Linked DNA regions of Homo sapiens: regions 1, 2, 3, 5, 6 and 7 are each linked to region 4. The links are contacts of gene promoters, found by promoter capture Hi-C in blood cells and fetal thymus (Javierre and others, 2016). All regions are on one chromosome and are shown on one strand. The core of a region is centred on a gene start or on the middle of the fragment in contact, and the rest is flanking DNA. Distances in the headings are between cores, read along the strand shown. Region 1 has its middle 71 kb from the start of PRICKLE2-DT. Region 2 overlaps LOC105377123 (a long non-coding RNA gene). Region 3 has its middle 52 kb from the start of PRICKLE2-DT. Region 4 holds the start of PSMD6-AS1 (PSMD6 antisense RNA 1). Region 5 has its middle 40 kb from the start of PRICKLE2-DT. Region 6 overlaps PRICKLE2-DT (PRICKLE2 divergent transcript). Region 7 has its middle 13 kb from the start of PRICKLE2-DT.

Region 1 (2,700 bases), core at 120-2,619, 360 kb before region 4:
TTCTTATATGAGTACCATGCTGTTTTGATTACTATAGCTTTGTAATATACTTTGAAATTTGGTAATATGATGCCTCCAGCTTTTTTCTTTTGGTACAAGATGCCTTTGACTATTCAGGATCTTTTGTGGTTCTATATGAATTTTAGGATTGTTTTTTCTATTTCTGTGAAGAATGACATTGACATTTTTGGCACAGATTACATTGAATCTGTAGATTGCTTTGGGTAGTATGTACGTCTTAACAATATTCTTCCAATTTATGAACACACGATATACTCCTATTTATTTGTGTCATCTTTAATTTTTTCCATTGAGGTTTAATAGTTTTCAGTATACAGACCTTTCACCTCCTTAGTTAAATGTACTCCTAAGTTTTGTTTGATGCTATTATAAATAGAATTTTCTTAATTTATTTTTCAGATAGTCTGTTATTAGTGTATAGAGATGTTACTAATTTTTGTAAGTTGATTTTGTATCCTGTAACTTTACTGAGTTCTTTTATCAGTTCTAATAGTTTTTTGGTGGTGTCTTTAGACTTTCTATATATAAGATCATGTCATCAGCAGAAAGAGACAATTTCACTTCTTCTTTTCCTGTTTGGAAGTCTTCTATTTCTTTCTCTTCCCTGATTGTTCTGGCTAGGACTTCCAGTACTATGCTGTCTTTTTGCTTTTGATGGTGGTGGTGATGATAGTGATTGTCATGATGGTGGTAGCTGTAATGAGGGTGGAGGTGGGATGGAGGAAGTTATAATAATAATGGTAGTTATAATGATATTGGTAATAGTGATAGTGGCAGGATGGTGGTTAATATTTTTTGAGTACTTTCTCAGTTCCAGACCTTGCTCTAAGCAGTTATATCTGATGTCTAGTCCTTCTGCTTTGGGCAGAAACCCAAGATTGTTCCTTCCTGGATTGTTCCTTTTTCTCACACATTCCGTAAGACTCTCAGCAAGCTTGGATCAGCTCTGCTTTCAAAACCCAGCTCTATCTTACCTGTGTGGACATGTCCTTTGCTATCACCATAGGTCCAACTACCTCCCTCTTTTACTTTCTTTCTGATAGTGACCTTCTCCCTGGCCTCCCTGCTTCCAGTCTGGCCTCTTATAATCCATTCACACCACAGGCAGTGTGATGTTCTAAAATTATATATCCCCCTTCTACTCAGAACCTTCTGAATGGCTTCCCTTCAAGCTGACAATAAAATCTAAGACCTTATGACCATGGTCTTTAGTCCCCAAATTCCCATTTTACCAGCCTCATGGCCTTCCACTCTCCCCATTGTGTGTTCTGCTGTTGTCAGATATGATCCTTGAGTACACCACATCTTCCAGTTGTGGCTCCTGCCGTTCACATCTTAGCATGGTGTGTTCCCTTGTTTCATTTAGGCTTTCCTCAAATTAGACTTCCTCAAAGAGGACTTCCCTGATCACCCTCTATTAAATAGCAGCCTGCCCTCCCTCATCCCTCACCTTCTATCTATCTCATTTACCCCATTAATAATTTCTTCACAGCACTTAACACTCAGCCATCATATTGTAAAGTTTAATAATATATTAGATCTAGCAGAAAATGTGTCCCTTCTAGAATAAAACTTTGTAAGGACGGGACCTCTCTGAATTATTCATCTTTGTATAATTTTGGTTTAGAACAGTGTCTGGCTCATATTATGGCCTTCCATCATAAGTCTTGGTGGAAAGAATTAACAAAATGGGAGCTTATATGATAAAAAATAACTCTAAGAGTTATAGTTTCCTTTTACAGATGAGGAAACTGAAGCTTAGAAAGATAAATTATGCCCTAGACTTCTGAGAACAAAGCTAAGCACTTCAATTTTTCTGAGAAGCTGATTGTATAGAATCTTGGGTTTATAACTCATTTGAACTTCTCATTCAGAGCTCCAACCCTGGCAGGCCTAACATAATGTTTGCCCAACTATTAAATATATAATCCTTGGCATTTGTTGTGTGCAAGGTATTTTAGATAATTAATTGATGAGGCATTTCTGTCTTATTATGTTTTTTGCTTCAGTAACAGAATAACAGAAGCTGGGTAATATATAATGAGCAGAAATTTATTGGCTCCCATTTCTGGAGCTGAGAAGTTCAAGATCAAGTAAGCAGTGCCTGGCAAAGGCCTTCTTTCTTTGTTATTCCATGATGGAGGGTGGAATGGCAGGAGAGTACTAAAGGAGAGAGACAGAGAAAGAAAGAGATAAAGGGGGCCAAACTCCCCCTTTTATAATGAACCCACTCCTACAATATTGGCATTAATTATTCACTTCACTATCATGGCCTAATCACCTCTCATTAGGCCCTATACCCCAACAGTATCGCATTGAGGATTAAGTTTCCAGTGCATATTTTTGGGGTGCATATTCAAATTATAGTAATTAGTATTCTTTATTTTTTATTTCTTGTAGAGATGAGGTCTAGAACTCCTGGCCTCAAGTGATCCTTCCACTTTGGTCTCCCACAGTGCTGGGATTACATGTGTGAGCCACTGTGTGCAGCACGGCAATTACTATTAAGTCACAGCGAATTTACTGGGATGATATATATATATTTGGCAATGGCATGTTTTAAGTTTTCATTGTATTTTTAACCACTTTGTTGAGATGTAATTCATGTCGTACAGTTTACCAATTTAAATTATATAATTCAATTTTTTTTAGTATATTCACACAGTTGTGCAACTGTCA
Region 2 (2,700 bases), core at 66-2,565, 460 kb before region 4:
AGCCAGCCTGTGTGTCCCCAGACTAAGGTCTCTGTTCCTCTCAAGCTCCACAACTCCCTAAGGTTCTGCTAACAGCTTCCTTCCCTCGTCCCTTAGACCTGAAGATGGTGAGCCCTTGCAAGGTTACTTCGCTTGCCTTCATGTTCTCCTGCACATGCACCTCTCTAAATGTCCCCTTTCTAAATAAATCTTCCTCCATTTCTCCTAACTCAAGTGTGACAGCTGTTTCTATTGGGTCCCTGATTGACATACTTTCCTTTGGCATATGGATGCATTCTGGTTTTGCTGTATTTCTATTCCTGGTTGCTCTGTGAACCTCATGACTAAGATTTACCTCCCCTTCCAGACATCACTTGGATTCAAGGTATTTGCTGTTCTTAAAACTGAATTTCTCAATTTCACTCTCTTTGAACCAAACATCCATCTGTTCTTTTTCTTTCCTTCTCTCTTTTTCTTCTTCCCTCCTTCCCTCCCTACCTCCCTTCTTGCTGGGTAGTGATGAATGAGAGCACTAGCATTAGTCTGCTTGAGTTAAATTCTCAGCTTGTTATGCAACCTCACCCCCTTAAGCTTAAGTTTTCTCATCTGGCAAATGGGGACAATGATTGCATTGTCATGAAGATTAAACAAGATCTTAAGATGGTGTTTGGGCCTGGAATGGTGGCTCACACATGTAATCTCAGCACTTTGGCAGGCTGAGGAAGGCAGATCGCTTGAGGCCAAGAGTTTGAGACCAGCCTGGCCAACATGGCAAAACCCCATCTCTACTAAAAATACAAAAATTAGACTGGCATGGTGGTGGGGGCCTGTAATCCCAACTACTCTCGAGGCGGAGGCAGGAGAATCACTTGAACCTGGGAGGTGGAGGTTGCAGTGAGCCGAGATTGCACCACGGCACTCCAGCCTGGGCAACGGAGTGAGACGCTGTCTCAAAAAAAAAAAAAAAAAAAAAAAAAGAATTGTGTCTGCACAGTCTGAGGTTCCTCAACATTTGTGGAATGATTATTTCTGTGTGTCAGGCTACTCCCTAATCTCTGATATCATAATCTAAATTTCCAAAGATTCTCTTTCTTGTGCCTGTAGCTGGTGGATGGCTTCTTCCTGCAATACTTCTCATGGTCCTGAATTGACCTTTTGAACCCTGGATTTTAAAGGCATCCTTAATTTCCATGGGCCCAGTACAATCAGAGAGCAAATTCTTAACCTAATTCTTATACTTTAGTTTGCTTCCCCCGACCCCCACAGTTACTGGTAAAGAAAAAGAAAAGGAGCTTTAAATTGTCTTATTATTTTTAGTATCTCCTACGAAGTACTAGATATTCAGAATGCCATAGAGAAAAGCATGAAGAGGAATTTTTTTCTTATGGAGGTGATGGGCATAGCAGGAGGGAGAATTTGACACCAGTTCTAACAGGGGAAAGAAAAGTACAGAATGCTTTGCATGTGGAGACTATGGAAGTATTTGTGGTTTTACAGTGGAGTTGATCAAGATTATAGAGGAAGTATTTGAGACCAAAGGTTAGCTTGAAGATTTAGGAAGATCTGTGCCTATAAATTCTCCATTACATGTCTGTTCCATTAATCATTCAAAAAAGTGTTGATTATATGATTTTTCACTTCTAAACTCCTGAGAATTGTAGGAAAGGGATTAGGAAGGAGGTGTGTGTGTGTGTGTGTGTGTGTGTGTTTGTGTGTGCAACTCACAGAGAAAGAGTTAAGGATGCAGTTACATCCACAGCTGAACTAATTTTCTTGATGCTCCGTTTATTTCATATTTTTATTTTCTCAAGAGTCCCCCAAAATAGCAATTTATACACATTTGTCTTCCCACCTAATTTTGCTTTAACAATAGTTAGGAAAACACAACCAGATGCTTTTTTTTATAAAAAGGCTTCTACATGTTGACATCAACGTCAAAATTAGCCCTCAGTCTCCAGAAAGTCACTTTTCTCAGTTCAATTAATAATTAAGTTGGAAAACTCACCTCTTAAGTTCTGGGACAACATAGCGGGGGTCAGAACACTGACCTGTCCTCAGGGAAATCAACCAGCTAAGCTTCTTTTTCTTGCAGTTCCCTGGGCAACCATTCCCTAAACAAGGTTCTCCATTTAACAATTAAATTTTAATTACCTAAGCAAGAGATAAATACATTCTCTTTTTTAAAACTTAATGTATCACAGATGAAGCTAAAGTGCCCTTGGACCACTATTTCTAATCATGATCTTCTTTACTGAAGGTTACAAGTTTGGGGTGTATCTTTATAGAACTTTTATTTTGCATTTTCCTAAATCTATATACATGTCCACATAGCAAGTGAGTAGCATTACTGTGTGCGCACTTTTTCCCTTGGTTTCTTACAGTCCATGGTAGTTTTTCCTGGACCCCTGATCTTGAAGAACACCAAAGACCAAACTGCAAAACCCAATGGTTGATTGCATCTCATTCTTCCCTTGGGAGTAGGGAGTTGACTTAAGCCCATTGTCTTTGTATGATAAATAATTGATAATAACTTAATATGTGGTTGGGGATACTTTATTTTCATTTCTATTTTATAATTTGTTGGTCATTAGGAGAAAATTAGGGGAAAATCCCTCTAAACCATATTCATAGAATTTGTGTGCTGGAAAGATCTTAGAGAGTATCTATTTAACACATCAAAAAATGGGTTCCAGAGGGGAAATGGAGCATTTGCAAACGTAG
Region 3 (2,700 bases), core at 84-2,583, 480 kb before region 4:
GGCTGGGAGAAAAGCAGAAAAACTAGTTAGGAAAAAGCTCTTAAAATAGACCAGTCCCAGCCGGGTGCGGCTTACGGTCGCAAGCCACGTAAGCCGCAGCCGGGTGCTCACACCTGTAATCCCAGCACTTTGGGAGGCCAAGGCGGGTGGATAACCTGAGGCCAGGAGTTCGTGACCAGCCTGGCCAACATGGTAAACCTCATCTCTACTAAAAATACAAAAATTAGCCAGGTGTGGTGGCACATGCCTATAATCTCAGCTACTCGGGAGGCTGAGGCATGAAAATCGCTTGAACCAGGGAGGTGGAGGTTGCAGTGAGCCGAGATGACACCAGTGCACTTCAGCCTGAGTGACAGAGCGAGACTCTGTGAAAAAAAAAAAAAAAGGGAGGGGGGAGGTCCAGAAGTCACAGTGATCTGCAGTGCCAGTGGAAATTGTGCCAAGTGACTATATTCTAGATGTCTTCTTAAGGCAGTACCACCATGTTTGGCTGAGGAATGTGAGACCAATAGAGGAATCCAAGAGAACAGTGTAACTGGAAGAACAGAGTGACTTGTTTCTGAGATGGAAGACACTGGCGAAGTAACAAATGGGGTCGGGGGATCAGGGGTTCAGTCGGACCCCTGATCCCCCGACCCCATTTGTTACACATGCCAGGTGGGAGACATCCGGGGGGAGAGTCAAGGAGCAGCTGGACACAAGCACCTGGAACTCAGGCTGGAGGTGGGAGCCAAGCTGTGGGCTGACTCTGATCCACCCTGAGCTCTAGATAGAATTTCCATCTGCTCTTTGGTGCCTCTATCAGGATGTTTACATGGCATCTCTGATGCTCAGCAAGAAGCAGTTACTATCTATTAGCACTCTCTGCCATGGGTGGCTGGTCTGGGTCAGGCTAGTGGAAGTACCTGGTGTATTCTTCCAGGAAAATAAGTAGTGTCATCTGAGTGGCTTAGCAGAATTTCTGGCTCCTTTTACAATGGAATTTCCAAGGTTAATGTACTGTACCCCAAATTTCTAGATCATAGTCGAGCCAGCTTGGATAACATGCTTTGGGTGTACAGTAGAGTTTAAGGATTTGATATCAAAACATGAGTCCAAATCCCTTCACTTGACACTTCCAGTGTTTAAGCATTAAGTTCCAGTGTTAAGCATGAATGCCTCCTACGTGCTGGTGTATTCATTTACTACGGCTGCCGCAAAAAATGACCACAAACCGGGTGGCTTAAAACAACAGAAATGTATTCTCTCACAGTGGTGGAGGCCAGAAGATGGAGCAGAAGTCAGACCAACTGTGCAGGGCCATGCTGCCTCTGGAGGCCTTAAAGGGGAATCTCTCCTTTTGCTCTTCCAGACTCTGGTGGCTCCAGGTGTTCCTGTGGGTACATCACTCCAATCTCTGCCTCCATCTTTGCATGGCCTTCTTTCTCCTCTGTGTCTGTGTCTTTGCCTGTGTCTCTCATGAGGACCCACTGGATTTGGGTCCTACCCAGATAATCCAGGAGATCCTTACATTAATTACATCTACAAAGACCCTTTTTCCAAATAAGGGTCACATTCACAGGTTCTAGGGGTTAGGATGTGGATGTATTTGGGGGTGGAGCAGGGACTATTCAAGCCACTACTGCTGGTTAGTGCCAGATAAAGGAAAGACGTAACCCATTCCCACAGTCCTCTGTTAATTCAATAAACATTTATTGAGTACATACTTTATATAGGACCTCATATTTGGCATTGCAGACACCAAGATGAAGATAATAGGCAAAGGCCTTACAAAGACCTCACAGTTTTATTGGGTGAATGGGATCAAAAAGGCTCAGCTCACCTAAGTATGCTGAGTCTTTCTGATCCCATTCCACTAATAAAATGTATTAAAAATAGTAGGGTATTCTCATATTATTTAATCCCCCCAACTCTGGAAGGTAGCTATTAGTGTTCTCATTTATGGATGCATATGCTGTGGTTCAGAGAAGTGAAGTGACTTGTACAGGGTGATGATTAGTAGGTGGTACAGCCAAGATTTAAACCTGGGTCTGCCCAACTGCAGCATACCCTGTTCTGTGCAATTCAGCATCAACTCCCCAATTATACCCACTGGGATATCACACGTGCACATAATTAAATGCTGACTTCTGTGACACAGAGTTCAAAATGGATATAAATGGATTTTTAAAATTGATTCTCATTTAAATATGCAAGGGAAATATTCTTGGAATCTTCTGGTCAGCCCTTTCTGGGAAGCACTCACTTTTATATTCTGCAAATCTACATGTGCCGGTCTTAGGTTTGCTTAAAATATGGTAGTCTCAGAGGCCTTGATCCTATTAAAGAACAGAAGAAAGATAAAACTTGTCTTTGCCTGGGCTTTGGCAACCCAGGCTCTGTATTTTGTCTGAGAGAGATACTCTCAAATATGTTGTATCAAAAAAACTATTAATTATAACCAATATTGTTTTGTAATTGATTATAATTTGATTGGACACAGACTCACCAACCAGTACCCTGGAAAAGTACCCCTTGTATAAAGACCAAGTAATCAGAAACACGGGTTTCATGTACAGTTCTTACCTGGTAAGGAAGTGAGGTTTCATTTTCTTTTCTTTTTCTAGTGTGGCCTAGCAAACAGGAGACCTGGGTATACTCTTAGCAATGACCTGAGCCCGGTGATACAGGGCACATTGCTTTCAACCTCTGAGACTCAAG
Region 4 (2,700 bases), core at 49-2,548:
TCATGTCTGCCCCTTGCATTAACAGATGGGAAGATGAGTTGTAGTGAGGCTAAGTGATTTGTTAAAGGTCATTAGACCAGTTGTTATCAAAAGTTGTCTTCTGTTACTTCTTTGTAGACCACACTGCAGCTACGGTAATGACTCTTAGATCTGATATTTACAGTTGGTCATATTCCCTCTGATAATTCCTTCCAGTTTTTAGGTTGCTGCTGCAATTCTGGTCAGATTGGTTGTTAAATGTGGGACTTTTAGTACTTGCATCAGTGATTAAACAAATAAATACTTAATGAGCCATTCATTACTATATGTTTGGTATTGTTTTACAGCTCCCTTTTCACACTTTCATTGTAGTAGTAGGGAAGAGATGGCAAGGAAGCAAATAAATATAAAACGTAATTTCACATATAGAAATGAACCTATGGAGATGAGAAAATGCTATCCTTACGTACGGCATGCTTAAGGAGGTGAGGTTTGCTCTGAGATTTGAATTGAGAGGAGTCAGCCATATGGAGTCCTTCTGCGTGCAGAAAAGGGAATAGAAAAGGCTAAGGCTTTGAGCCAGGAATAAGCTTGGATGTTGTAGGAACAGAAAATGTCAGGGTGGCTCCAGCATAGTTGGAGTGGTAGGAGATTTTGAGGATAATATATGGAGAGTTAGGTAGGTAATGATTTGTGTAGGGCCTTGTAGGTCATGGGATGGAGCTTGAGTTTTAAGTAAGTTTGATAGGGAGCCATTGGAAGATTTAGAGCCCAAGTTACATGGTCCTATGCAGTGTCTTTATATAAGAAATAGAGTAAGGTGGCAGAGAGGACCAGTTGTGCTGTTTAGTAGCTCTTAGAGGAGATGTTACCGTGGCGTGGACGAGGGTGGTGAGAGTAGAGTTGGGTAGGAGACATACTCAATATGGGATGTCCAGATGGCATCTAGATCAGTGGCTCCCACATGTAGGTGTTTTTAAATGTTGATGATGGTGTTTTCAATGGTCTGCAGTGGAAACTTTAAATGAAGATGCATTTCTTTTAAATAAGACCATTCTCTTTCTAGTATTTTTTAAATTTCGAACATCCATAAAATTGTAAAGAAAGAATTGTACAGTACATTTTAACATATTTGCTTGTTACAATCTATACATTTTATGTTTTTTAACCACTTCAAAGTAAGTTTCAGACACCAACACATTTTTTAAATGATCCCTACCATTTTTTAAATGATCCCTACCAAAATGGAAGGCTGGTATCCCAAGGTTTTGTTCCATTTCTCAATTCTAGTCTGTGAAATTGAAGTCTGATGACCACTCTTAAGAGGGCTGTTCATTAGGGTGCGGGCTGGGCATTATGAGTGTGTTTTTCATGAGTCAGTGGAAGGAGGGGCTTGTTGTGAGCAGTGCATGAGAAAAACGGCTTGGCTTTGCTTCTTTTTCCAGCTCTGTGGCCTTGGTCAGGTTACGTCTCTTCAGTATCGTAACTGTAATGTGGAGATAAAGCCTTCATTAGTTAGGGGCACACACCGCAGTATTCCTTAAGTCATCTTGATGACAAGTGAATGCAAGGCAGCTGGTACCTTTCAGGTAGTAGTTGAATTCAGGTAGTATTTGTTCAGTTTTTTTTTTTTCCCTTCATGTTCTAAGACCAGCTTGAGAGGCAAAGGTTGTACCACTGAGCTCTAGTTGTTGTTACCTAAAAAGGCCTTGTTTTAAATTTCTGTGATACCTAAGAATTTCAAATCTGGGTTGTCATGGATTCTTTATTCTTTTTTTCTCCCTTAAAAAGTTACATTTTAGATGAAATCCCCTTTTTTAAAATGGGCAAAGCAATAATTCTACATCATTTCTCCCCTTCCCTTCCACTTGTTTAGACTAAGATATGTTAGAGAGGGAAAGGGTCGTTGTTTTAGTAAATACTATTGCTGTTGACATGTTAATACTATTGCTGTTGACATGTTTACTGATGGGCTGTGTTCCATAATTTTGTTTTAGGTCTTTTGTTTGAAACAGTTTACTGTTTTTATCAGTTTTGGTCCCTAATTTTTCCTAACCTACAGTTTTTCTCTGAGTACATATGGTTTCATTGTTTGATCTACTTTCTATCTATCTGAATATGAACTTCTAGGATCATGTTTATTCTAGTAGATGATGACTTAAAGCCTGCAGTATAGGAGGGACAACGTCAACTACTGCATGTGCAATAACAAGCTTGAAGGGAAGCTAAATGTTTGTTACAAATTTAAGACAGTATTTTAATGCCGTTTGCATTTTTCTAAGAATTTTCTATAAAGCTAATTCTGTTATTTTTTGTCTCTAAATTAGGGAACTGTCCAGGTTTATTGCTGCCGGGAGACTACACTGCAAAATAGATAAAGTGAATGAAATAGTAGAAACCAACAGGTACTCTCATTTCTCAGAATAAGGGGCATTCCTAAATTTTAAAAGTAGGTCAACTATTGTCATGGAATAATGTGACTGGTAAATAATTCATTTTTTCTTGAATTTATTTATAGACCTGATAGCAAGAACTGGCAGTACCAAGAAACTATCAAGAAAGGAGATCTGCTACTAAACAGAGTTCAAAAACTTTCCAGAGTAATTAATATGTAAAGCCATGTAACTAACAAAGGATTTGCTTTAGAGATAATTATTTGGAATTTTTATAGCTTACTTCACAATGTGCCCAGGTCAGCTGTATAAAATAAATACTGCATTG
Region 5 (2,700 bases), core at 14-2,513, 390 kb before region 4:
TACACAGGGGAGTGACATGATTCGATTTGTGCTTTAAAAAGATCCATCTTTCCCTGTCTAGGTCCAGAAAGTGCAGGTTTCTCTCCAGACCATGAGAGATTGATTTTGTCCCCTGCTGGGCAACTCTGATATGGAGTCTTTTGAGGTTACCACTACCATTAGTGCCTGTACCCAACCTCCAACCATCCTAATTTGGAACCTTTTAAAACTTTAAATAAAAGAAGCAATTTCTGTCCGTGTTCTACCTTTGTTCTCCTTCTTTAAACCGTGATTGAAGCTGGGCTTGGATATCTTTGAAAACCCCAGAGAAGAAAATGATTTCCATAGCAGCTGTAACCATGGGAAACCTTCAAAATAGCTTCCGTTCCTATATTCCACTCTGCTCCTTTCCCCTCTCTATTGGTTGACTAGAAATGAGGGCTGGCATTTTTGGTCTTCTTCTTTTTGTCCAAATATGTGTATATGAGAGTCTTCTTTTCACTTCCACATCCATCTTATCATAGCTTGAGAATCAAAGGCTGGCATATTTGGGGAGGAAAAGAAAAGAGAAGCTTCTAGGATACCTTCATTTTTTCATAAAATAGAGGAACCAAGTGGAATGTTGATTTAGAAGATGAGATCTCAGGTTTCTTTTCCTGCTGTTTGTTTCTTCCCAGGTCACAAGATAGGACCAAGTACATCATCTTTCAGACATACAAAGATCAAAGGTTTTTTTTGTTGTTTTTTTTTTTCGGAGACACTTAAAAGTGGTTTTCATCAGTTTCCCTTCCATTCTGCTCTCACATGCGCTTGGTAGTGAGCCGTCTCGTAGTCAGGTCAGAGAGATGCTCAGAATTCTTCCAGAAACACATAATTCCCCTTTGGAGAGTTTCTGTTGTAAAAATCATCACAATTTGTGAGCTTAATTTCTGGTCCAGTGCAAAAACCTCTGATGGGTACAGGGCAAAAGCGGGCTACTCAGTGTTTCTCTTGATGGACAGATTTTAATGAAATGAGGGCATGACAAGGAATCTGAAGTAATTGCTATAGAAGTTAATAAAGAGATGGGAACATATGAGGATACTGTTTGCTTCTGGAATTTAGCCAGGCCACTGGGAGAGGCTCAGGAGGAAAACTGAGAAGGGAAATATGAAGTTCAGGCAAGTCTGTTACATGCATTCTCATTTCCACAATGTTTGAGAACCATGTCAAGAAATGCATTGCATAAGTTAAACCAGCTGCCAGCAGCTTTGTATTCAGCACTTTCCTGGGTCACCAGATAGCAGGGAAACCTCTCCAAGATCTCTGTGTATTATAGAAAACTAGGGGAATTTTCTTTATGCAACATCCTTATCCTAACAGTGCAGCATCTTTTTGTCTCCGGAACTCACTGTATAAAAAGAAGTAACTATTGTTGGGTTGTGCTTATCTTTATTGTTGTATGTTTGGGTTTATGTTTTCAAACAAGGGATGGAGGACCTGGCAATCAGTCAGAATCATGATGCTGGCATTTAAGAGATTCATTCTGGCTCAAGAGCTTGGCCTGGCCTTCCAGAGCTTTCCCATTGACACCCATGTGCCTGATTAGAGTACACTTGTAAAAATTAAATAAGATGACCTATGCAGTGTGCCCCACATATGCTCCATAAATGTCAGTTCACATTTCTTGTTAAACTTTTATAAGGTTGATCTTAAGAGACGACAATTGAGTCTGTCTAAGTGAACCATCTGGGGGGTGAGCATGTTGATGTATCTTCCACAGCTTTAGTTTTCCAGGAAGCACATGGGATATAGTCAAATCAAGAGACAGGATGGTACTGATAGTTTCTTTAGTCTCTTGCTTGCTTGCAGTTAAGCTAGTTAGCCTGAATGCACTCCTTCTCTCATAGCAGTCTCCAGAGTGACTCTGTTAGCTCACCTGGCTAGCATGCTGTGGCCTCCTTGAGGCGTCTAAAGTTGGCTGTCACTGCCTGAGATACTGGTGCCTCAAGCTTAGAAAACTCACTTTACCAAAGTCAGCCTTCACGAACATGTTATTCCTGGTATGAAAGTCCCTAGTCTTTAAATAACAATTGCCTCTGTTACCTTTAGACTATATTTTGGCTCATTAAATTTTTTTTTAGTATGCATCATCTTCCAAGAGTGCATTGAGAAATTTCTAGATTTAAGACCTCCTTTCTTCCCAGACCCTATTGCTCAACTCGTAATAAACAAAAGATTTTACTTAAATAATTTCAGAGAAAACTACCTTTATTTCTTTGACTTATATAGAATCTTAGATATCGGAATACTCTTGGGAAGTACCTGGTATATCCAATAAAGAAAATTGATTTATAGGGAGAGTAAGTGACTTTTCCTAAGGAAACATATTTGGTGGCATAGCTGAGACCAGAATCTGGGTCTAATGTGGTATTTTTCAAACTAAGTGTATAAGTCTTCTAAAAATTTAAGAAATTATTTTAAAATATTAATATTTTAAAAATTATTTTACTAGTTATAAATATAAAACTTCTATTTTATAATGGGCAGTTCAGAACTGATAAATGTTTTAATTGCATAAGATTTTGGTTACCTACATTTCTCTCAAACTAAGCCCTAACCCATAGAGACTGGCAGGTGGTGGTGAGAGGGTTGAGCAGATGAGGGCACCGTGTGAGACCTTTCTCCTTTAGGAGTTTTTTTTTTTTTCCATAAAAATTGATTTTGTGCTTAAGATATCTG
Region 6 (2,745 bases), core at 114-2,613, 440 kb before region 4:
TAAGGGGCCCAACTGATAACCCATGGTAGCATTTCTCAAAATCCTTTTCTCTTTCTTTCTTGATTTTCTCAATTATACCAAAGCTTCTCATTCACCACCCCAAACCCAAACATCTCCAAGAGCAGCCCACTTGCCTTTTCAAGCTCTCTGTCTTTGACCTCTGTTCTCTCTCAGCAATACAGTATTTAGGTTGATTTTGCCTGTCTGACTGCCTTCATCCCTCTCTCTGCCTTGCCCATTACCCAGACTTTTCACAACAAAGGAGAGCCCATGAAATGTCTAACAAAAATCTTTCCTCCTTTCTTCCGTTCTACCTGGGCCTGTTTCTTTTTGCCCAACATCCTGATTTTGCATTTTTTTAAGCCAGAAACTGGGGAAAGGAGAAGCAGATATCAAAGACAAAATTCCCTTTATTGAAAATGACAGGAAAGGGTTAAAATTGGGCACTGTTGCACATTAATAAGCCTTGTGTTCATCACAATAATGACTTCCCCATCTGCCATTGCAAGACCACAGACCCCTACATGGTTTACACATTTGCTCCTCATTCTTCTTGCCATCTCCCCACCCCTAACATGTGTCATAGGTGTTCACAAACAAATCCCATCAACTACCAACTCAGGTATGTATTTTTTTTCCCCATGCCCTACTCTAGTTCCCTCCCTCTGATAATGTCTATGGCTAAGTTCTTCCCTGATTACCATGTTGGGGGATATTAAACAATACTGCTTCATGCACCAGTGACTTATAGTGAATTATGCCATCACACTTAGAATTTTAGTCTCTTCATGAGCTAAACCTGATGACTTAATTTCTCTGTGTGTCAGCTTCCTCATCTGTAAATGGGCAACCATAAAAATCTTACTCAAGGTGTTGTGAGAATTAAATTAACTTGAGTAAAGTGCTTAGCACTGCAAAATGTTGGCTCTCTACATATACCAACATTTCCATTCTTCTTTTTACCATTCTTTTTTGGAGGGGACAGGAAGAAGAGAAAGGTGAGTCTGCTAGGAAGTGAAGAGGACCTGGTGAAGACTTAGAGCAGGAGCCAGCAAACTATGCTAGACCAAACTGGACCTACTGCCTGCTTTTGTAAACAAAGCTTTATTGAAACACTGTCACTCTCCTTCATCTATGGCACTTTTGTACTACAATTGTGGAGTTGAGTTGTTGTGATAAAGACTGTATGATCCACAAAGCCTTAAATAGCTCCTATCCGAACCTGTACAGAAAAATTTGCCAACTCCTGATTTAGAATATAAAAACAGAATCACTTTTTCATACACTTTGCCATTGATGAGATGAATGTCATATGAGGCTTTCTCTTTCAAGTGAAGTGGTTAACTATTGTCTGAGTTTCTGCATCTGAGTCAACCCTTACCGACAGCAAGAGTTAACATCTCTGAGGCCTAATCCAAAGTAAGGTTATGTTCTTTAGAAGCCTGGCCAGTTCTCCTAGGAATACAAGGAATGCAGTGTGAGATAGTATTGCAATTCTGATAAGGCCACTGGGACAGGGATGCCCAAGGGCTCATGCATGTCCGTGCTTCTCCTCTTCTTAGGCGCAAAGCTAGATGATGCTTTCCGGTTCTCTTGCAGTAAAGGAGGCCATGTCTCAAGCTTGTGCCAATGAAATCTGGGGAAAATACGTCCACCAGTCCTCACTGACTCTTTACCTTCTCTTTTCTTGTCTGCAGGTCGGATTCAGACAATCCGGTGGAGCACTCTGAAATTTAGAGGAAGTGGTCAAATAGAATTTTCTGGAATTATGGAAATCTTCTATTCTGTGCATCTAGTATAGTAGAATCTAGTCACATGTGGCTTTTGAGAACTGGAAATATGGCTAATGCAACAGAGAAAGTGAATTTTTACTTTTGATTCATTTAAATATAAATGGTCACATATGACATCACTGCCATATTGGACATTGCAGTTCTGGAAGATGGCAGATGCAGCCCTCAGAAGAATTATCAGCCTGAATGTCTGGGCGGAGCAGAGCACTACCTTCCCACTCACTCTTCCCCTCCTCTCGCCCCCTCCCCTGCCTCACTTGCATCAGATTATGATGTGAGCAAAAGCAGGAAACAGCTCTTTTGATAGGCCTGTGAGACTTGCTGTTCGTTGGAGTAGCTAGGCTGCTCTGACTCATACAGACCCAAATCCTGGCAACCACTTTTATGAAGAAATGACAATTCAGTCTACTACTTGTCCATTTTACATGCCCAAGGAATGTGAGGGGCCTCTGCTTGGATCTAGTTTTCAACCTAGTCTATGGCATTGATTATCCTTTTAAAAGACAAAAGAGGTGACTTCACGGGCACTTAACATCTTGGCCATACTGACCCCAGTTGCACGCTACGTAGGAAGTTTTAGTCCATTTAAACTGAAGTTCCAATTTTTTTTTTAACAACTATTTAAAAATTGTACATGTCCCATACATGACAGAGAAAGGGTTGTCTGGTTGGATGATTTTTGGCTTGCAAAAAGAGAACACAAAAGAAAAGCATACGTTTTAATACTCAAGAGACCAAATTTTCTGCTGAAGAGGAAATGAACTACATATCCAGAAGGGTCCTACCAAGAGGCCAAACAGACTGTGTTCTCTTGGGGGAGTTCTCAGTGGTGATGAGAACACCACTTTTTTTTTTTTTTTAGTCATTTTCAAGGTGAGATATTGACTTGCTGCTGGAGCAGGACAACTGGTCTCTCTTTCATTGCTAGCAGCAGAGTAAGGGTCTTGCAAGT
Region 7 (2,700 bases), core at 93-2,592, 420 kb before region 4:
TCATCAAGGCAATACTTAATCAGTTTCCCTCTAGCCTGCTTAATAAGTATGAGTTTTTTTGACTCCCGTTGTGCCACATTAAACATTTCCATTTACATGGTCACAAGTCCCTAAGTAGAAGCTCCCTCTTCTGAAGCATGAGAGACATGGATATTTATATAAAATTTGAACCTGAGATCACACTCTGGAAACTCCTGAGATTAGATCTGGCCTATAGGTGTATTTTGTTAGCATTGCACAGGCTTTAAATTTTAAATTAGTGGCCAACATTTAAGATATTGTGTAAAAATTCAGATTTGGGCTTTCTCTGGAAAGATGACACTATCTGGCAAAAGTAGCCTAATATTTCTTCTTTTCCTTTAAGATGAGACGTGTTCAACTTTTTTACAGTTTCCACCATTCCCTATTGTCTTACACCTGGCCTGCCTTGCTCATTTACATTACTCATCGGCCACTGCAGACATCAGATTTTGTGACTACTGATTTGAAAGAAACCAGTGAGTGAGTGTACATGACTGGAAGGATGAAATGAATGGTGGGGTGGCATAAAGTCACTACCTGGCAGGGGCAGCTGTGCTAAGCAAGTCGTCTCAGCAGCTAAGCCCTCCCTTTCTGGGAGATACAGTAAAGGAGGAGCAGACATTATTGAGGGCCTGCTGTGTGCTTGATTTCTTTCAGGAATCACTTCATTTCATACTCAAAACAGTTTCCTGAGGCGTGTCTTTTATCTTCCACTTTTTAAGTATGGGGACTCAGGGAGGTTAGGTAGCATGCATTCATTCACATTGGTAAATAAGTAATGGAATCAGGATTTGAAGTCAGGTCTTTGAGGCTCCAGATTACAAGCTCTTGAACCCAGAGTGTGTTGAGCTCTGGCATTTGATTCTTCTGGTCTAAATATAAACCTGTACCTTGGGGAAAACAGTTTTATATTCTCTATGACCTGGGGATGAGATCTGACTAGTGTCTAAAACAGAACAAAATGTCTGAAGAACCCTGGACTAGTTGGTTTATTTGGGGCAAGAGTCTTAAAAGGGAAACTCCTTCAGATTAGAGGTTGTGGGGTTGAGCTTACCGAGGTGTCTGAAATGTGCCACCTTGAGAAAAATGGAATCGAATGCAACGTGACTTCCAGTTCCATAGGAGGCCACTTGCAGTTTTCTAATCAGATCTGACTACATTAAATGAGGCTCCATTCAGCTTGTTAAAAACTTGGGTGTAATTTGGGCTGTCTGGGAGAGTTTGTGTGTGGGGAGGGCAGCTTTAAAAATGCCATTTGCATAATGTTTCTAGAGGAAAACTCTACAAAAGGGATCAGTCAAGGGAGGGAATGTACGGTACCTCCTTTCAGCAGCCAACTATACATCAACAAGCATAAAAATAAACAAGATGGTCGTTATCCAGCCTTTGGACCTAGGCTTTTGAATATATGTAGCGACCTTTGGTGTCACATTGGCAAAACAGACACAAGCACATTTGACTGTTGGAAGGCGTTTAATGAGCACATTATTTGATTTTTGTGTTTGGTAAACTACTTGGTGATGCAGAAACAGCTTTCGCAATTCTTAAAAACCGGCTCATTATATGTACCTATAACACCCAGAGTGGGTTCTCCTACTTTGAGTGCTGAGGAATTAGGCCTCCAGGGGACTTATTAAAAGAATGCAGGTGTTTGCTTTCTTCAACAACACTATGAAATTACCCCGATAATATAATTTCCTAAAGTCTTTTGTTCCACAGTCAGGCACCCAGGGGTACTCCCTGTTATTTGCATCCTTGGTGACTCGGCCTTTGGAACTCCTCCAGCAACATATTGAGTTGTTTGGAAACACAATGACAAGCTCCTCTCATCTTTATGAAGCCAAAAGTTTGGAGACAATAGATAATTGAGGAAAGCGTTGTTCATTTTTGGGTTTGGCATGTTTGTAGCCACAGAGAAGGACACATTACATATGTTTTCCTGGGTTCTGGGAGATGGAACTTTCTTTTTTTTTTTGGTAAAATTTTGGTGTAACAGCTTTTTTTTTCCTGTAAGTCTTCCATGTATTTTTAAATTGTTTTTGAGCTTTGAGTTGGTAGGAGATGCTCCTTACAACCTTTGATTTGCAAACATTTATTCCTTGGTTTAACCCATCATCATTATGACCACCATCACTCAACTGACTTACCACAAACTGGGTAAATACTTATCTTTCTTTAATTATCTTGGTTTTTAATTAACCTTTCTTAAATGTATGCATAGCTTCCATCTTATTTCAATGTTTAATATTTGAAGTGTTTTGGGTCTTTATTTAGAAGTTTGTTTTTTTTTTTCCCCCCAAAAAATTCAACTTTTCTTTTAGATTCAAGGGGTACATGTGCAGAGTTGTTACATGGTTATATTGCATGATGCTGAGGTTTGGGGTACAAATGATCCCATCATCCAGGTAGTGGGCATAGTATCCAATAGGTAGTTTTTCAGCCTTTGCCCTCCTTTTTCTTCTCTACCCTCTAGTAGTCCTCTGTATCTCCTTGATAAAAACATTTTTAAGGCAGGTGTACTTCTTATTCTAAAATAATTTTGATCAAATTGTTGGATGATAAATATGCAGTTTAGACAATTTGGAAAATGCAGCAAAGTCCAGCGATTTACGCAAAAAACAAGCACAACTTTATAAGCCAATCACCAGTACACTTAGCACTAGTCTGTGATTTCCTTCT

What was found. Contacts are between HindIII fragments. The CHiCAGO score rates a contact against its expected background, and 5 or more counts as called.
Region 1: a fragment that was not itself captured here is called in contact with the fragment with the promoter of PSMD6-AS1 in region 4 in 1 of 17 cell types (megakaryocytes); the score reaches 6.4 in megakaryocytes.
Region 2: a fragment that was not itself captured here is called in contact with the fragment with the promoter of PSMD6-AS1 in region 4 in 13 of 17 cell types (megakaryocytes, endothelial precursors, naive B cells and 10 more); the score reaches 13.8 in megakaryocytes.
Region 3: a contact is called between a fragment that was not itself captured here and the fragment with the promoter of PSMD6-AS1 in region 4, in 7 of 17 cell types (activated CD4 T cells, megakaryocytes, naive B cells and 4 more). The highest score is 9.7, in activated CD4 T cells.
Region 5: a contact is called between a fragment that was not itself captured here and the fragment with the promoter of PSMD6-AS1 in region 4, in 3 of 17 cell types (megakaryocytes, endothelial precursors and naive B cells). The highest score is 12.0, in megakaryocytes.
Region 6: a fragment that was not itself captured here is called in contact with the fragment with the promoter of PSMD6-AS1 in region 4 in 2 of 17 cell types (megakaryocytes and endothelial precursors); the score reaches 10.4 in megakaryocytes.
Region 7: a contact is called between a fragment that was not itself captured here and the fragment with the promoter of PSMD6-AS1 in region 4, in 1 of 17 cell types (megakaryocytes). The highest score is 6.0, in megakaryocytes.

What each region holds. Positions count from the first base shown.
Region 1 is chr3:64,373,239-64,375,938 of GRCh38, reverse strand. No RefSeq gene overlaps it. Among named protein-coding and RNA genes, the nearest start is that of PRICKLE2-DT, 71 kb to the left of the region's middle. The HindIII fragment of the contact is 823 bases long and covers 958-1,780 here.
Region 2 is chr3:64,472,405-64,475,104 of GRCh38, reverse strand. The region is part of intron 3 of LOC105377123 (a long non-coding RNA gene); the gene reads left to right. Among named protein-coding and RNA genes, the nearest start is that of PRICKLE2-DT, 28 kb to the right of the region's middle. The HindIII fragment of the contact is 1,485 bases long and covers 573-2,057 here.
Region 3 is chr3:64,495,511-64,498,210 of GRCh38, reverse strand. No RefSeq gene overlaps it. Among named protein-coding and RNA genes, the nearest start is that of PRICKLE2-DT, 52 kb to the right of the region's middle. The HindIII fragment of the contact is 2,738 bases long and covers 1-2,700 here.
Region 4 is chr3:64,010,562-64,013,261 of GRCh38, reverse strand. It overlaps PSMD6-AS1 (PSMD6 antisense RNA 1), which reads right to left and starts at 1,298. Exons shown (of 2, transcript NR_189168.1): 1 at 1,220-1,298. It overlaps PSMD6 (proteasome 26S subunit, non-ATPase 6), which reads left to right. Exons shown (of 8, transcript NM_014814.3): 7 at 2,307-2,384; 8 at 2,498-2,700. The coding sequence ends at 2,594. PSMD6-AS2 (PSMD6 antisense RNA 2) reads right to left here. Exons shown (of 3, transcript NR_038286.1): 3 at 1,019-1,465. The HindIII fragment of the contact is 1,623 bases long and covers 572-2,194 here.
Region 5 is chr3:64,404,096-64,406,795 of GRCh38, reverse strand. No RefSeq gene overlaps it. Among named protein-coding and RNA genes, the nearest start is that of PRICKLE2-DT, 40 kb to the left of the region's middle. The HindIII fragment of the contact is 1,419 bases long and covers 554-1,972 here.
Region 6 is chr3:64,453,718-64,456,462 of GRCh38, reverse strand. PRICKLE2-DT (PRICKLE2 divergent transcript) reads right to left here. Exons shown (of 4, transcript NR_183714.1): 4 at 393-1,726. It overlaps LOC105377123 (a long non-coding RNA gene), which reads left to right. Exons shown (of 8, transcript XR_940913.3): 8 at 1,698-2,745. Among named protein-coding and RNA genes, the nearest start is that of PRICKLE2-DT, 9.8 kb to the right of the region's middle. The HindIII fragment of the contact is 518 bases long and covers 1,105-1,622 here.
Region 7 is chr3:64,430,832-64,433,531 of GRCh38, reverse strand. No RefSeq gene overlaps it. Among named protein-coding and RNA genes, the nearest start is that of PRICKLE2-DT, 13 kb to the left of the region's middle. The HindIII fragment of the contact is 9,934 bases long and covers 1-2,700 here.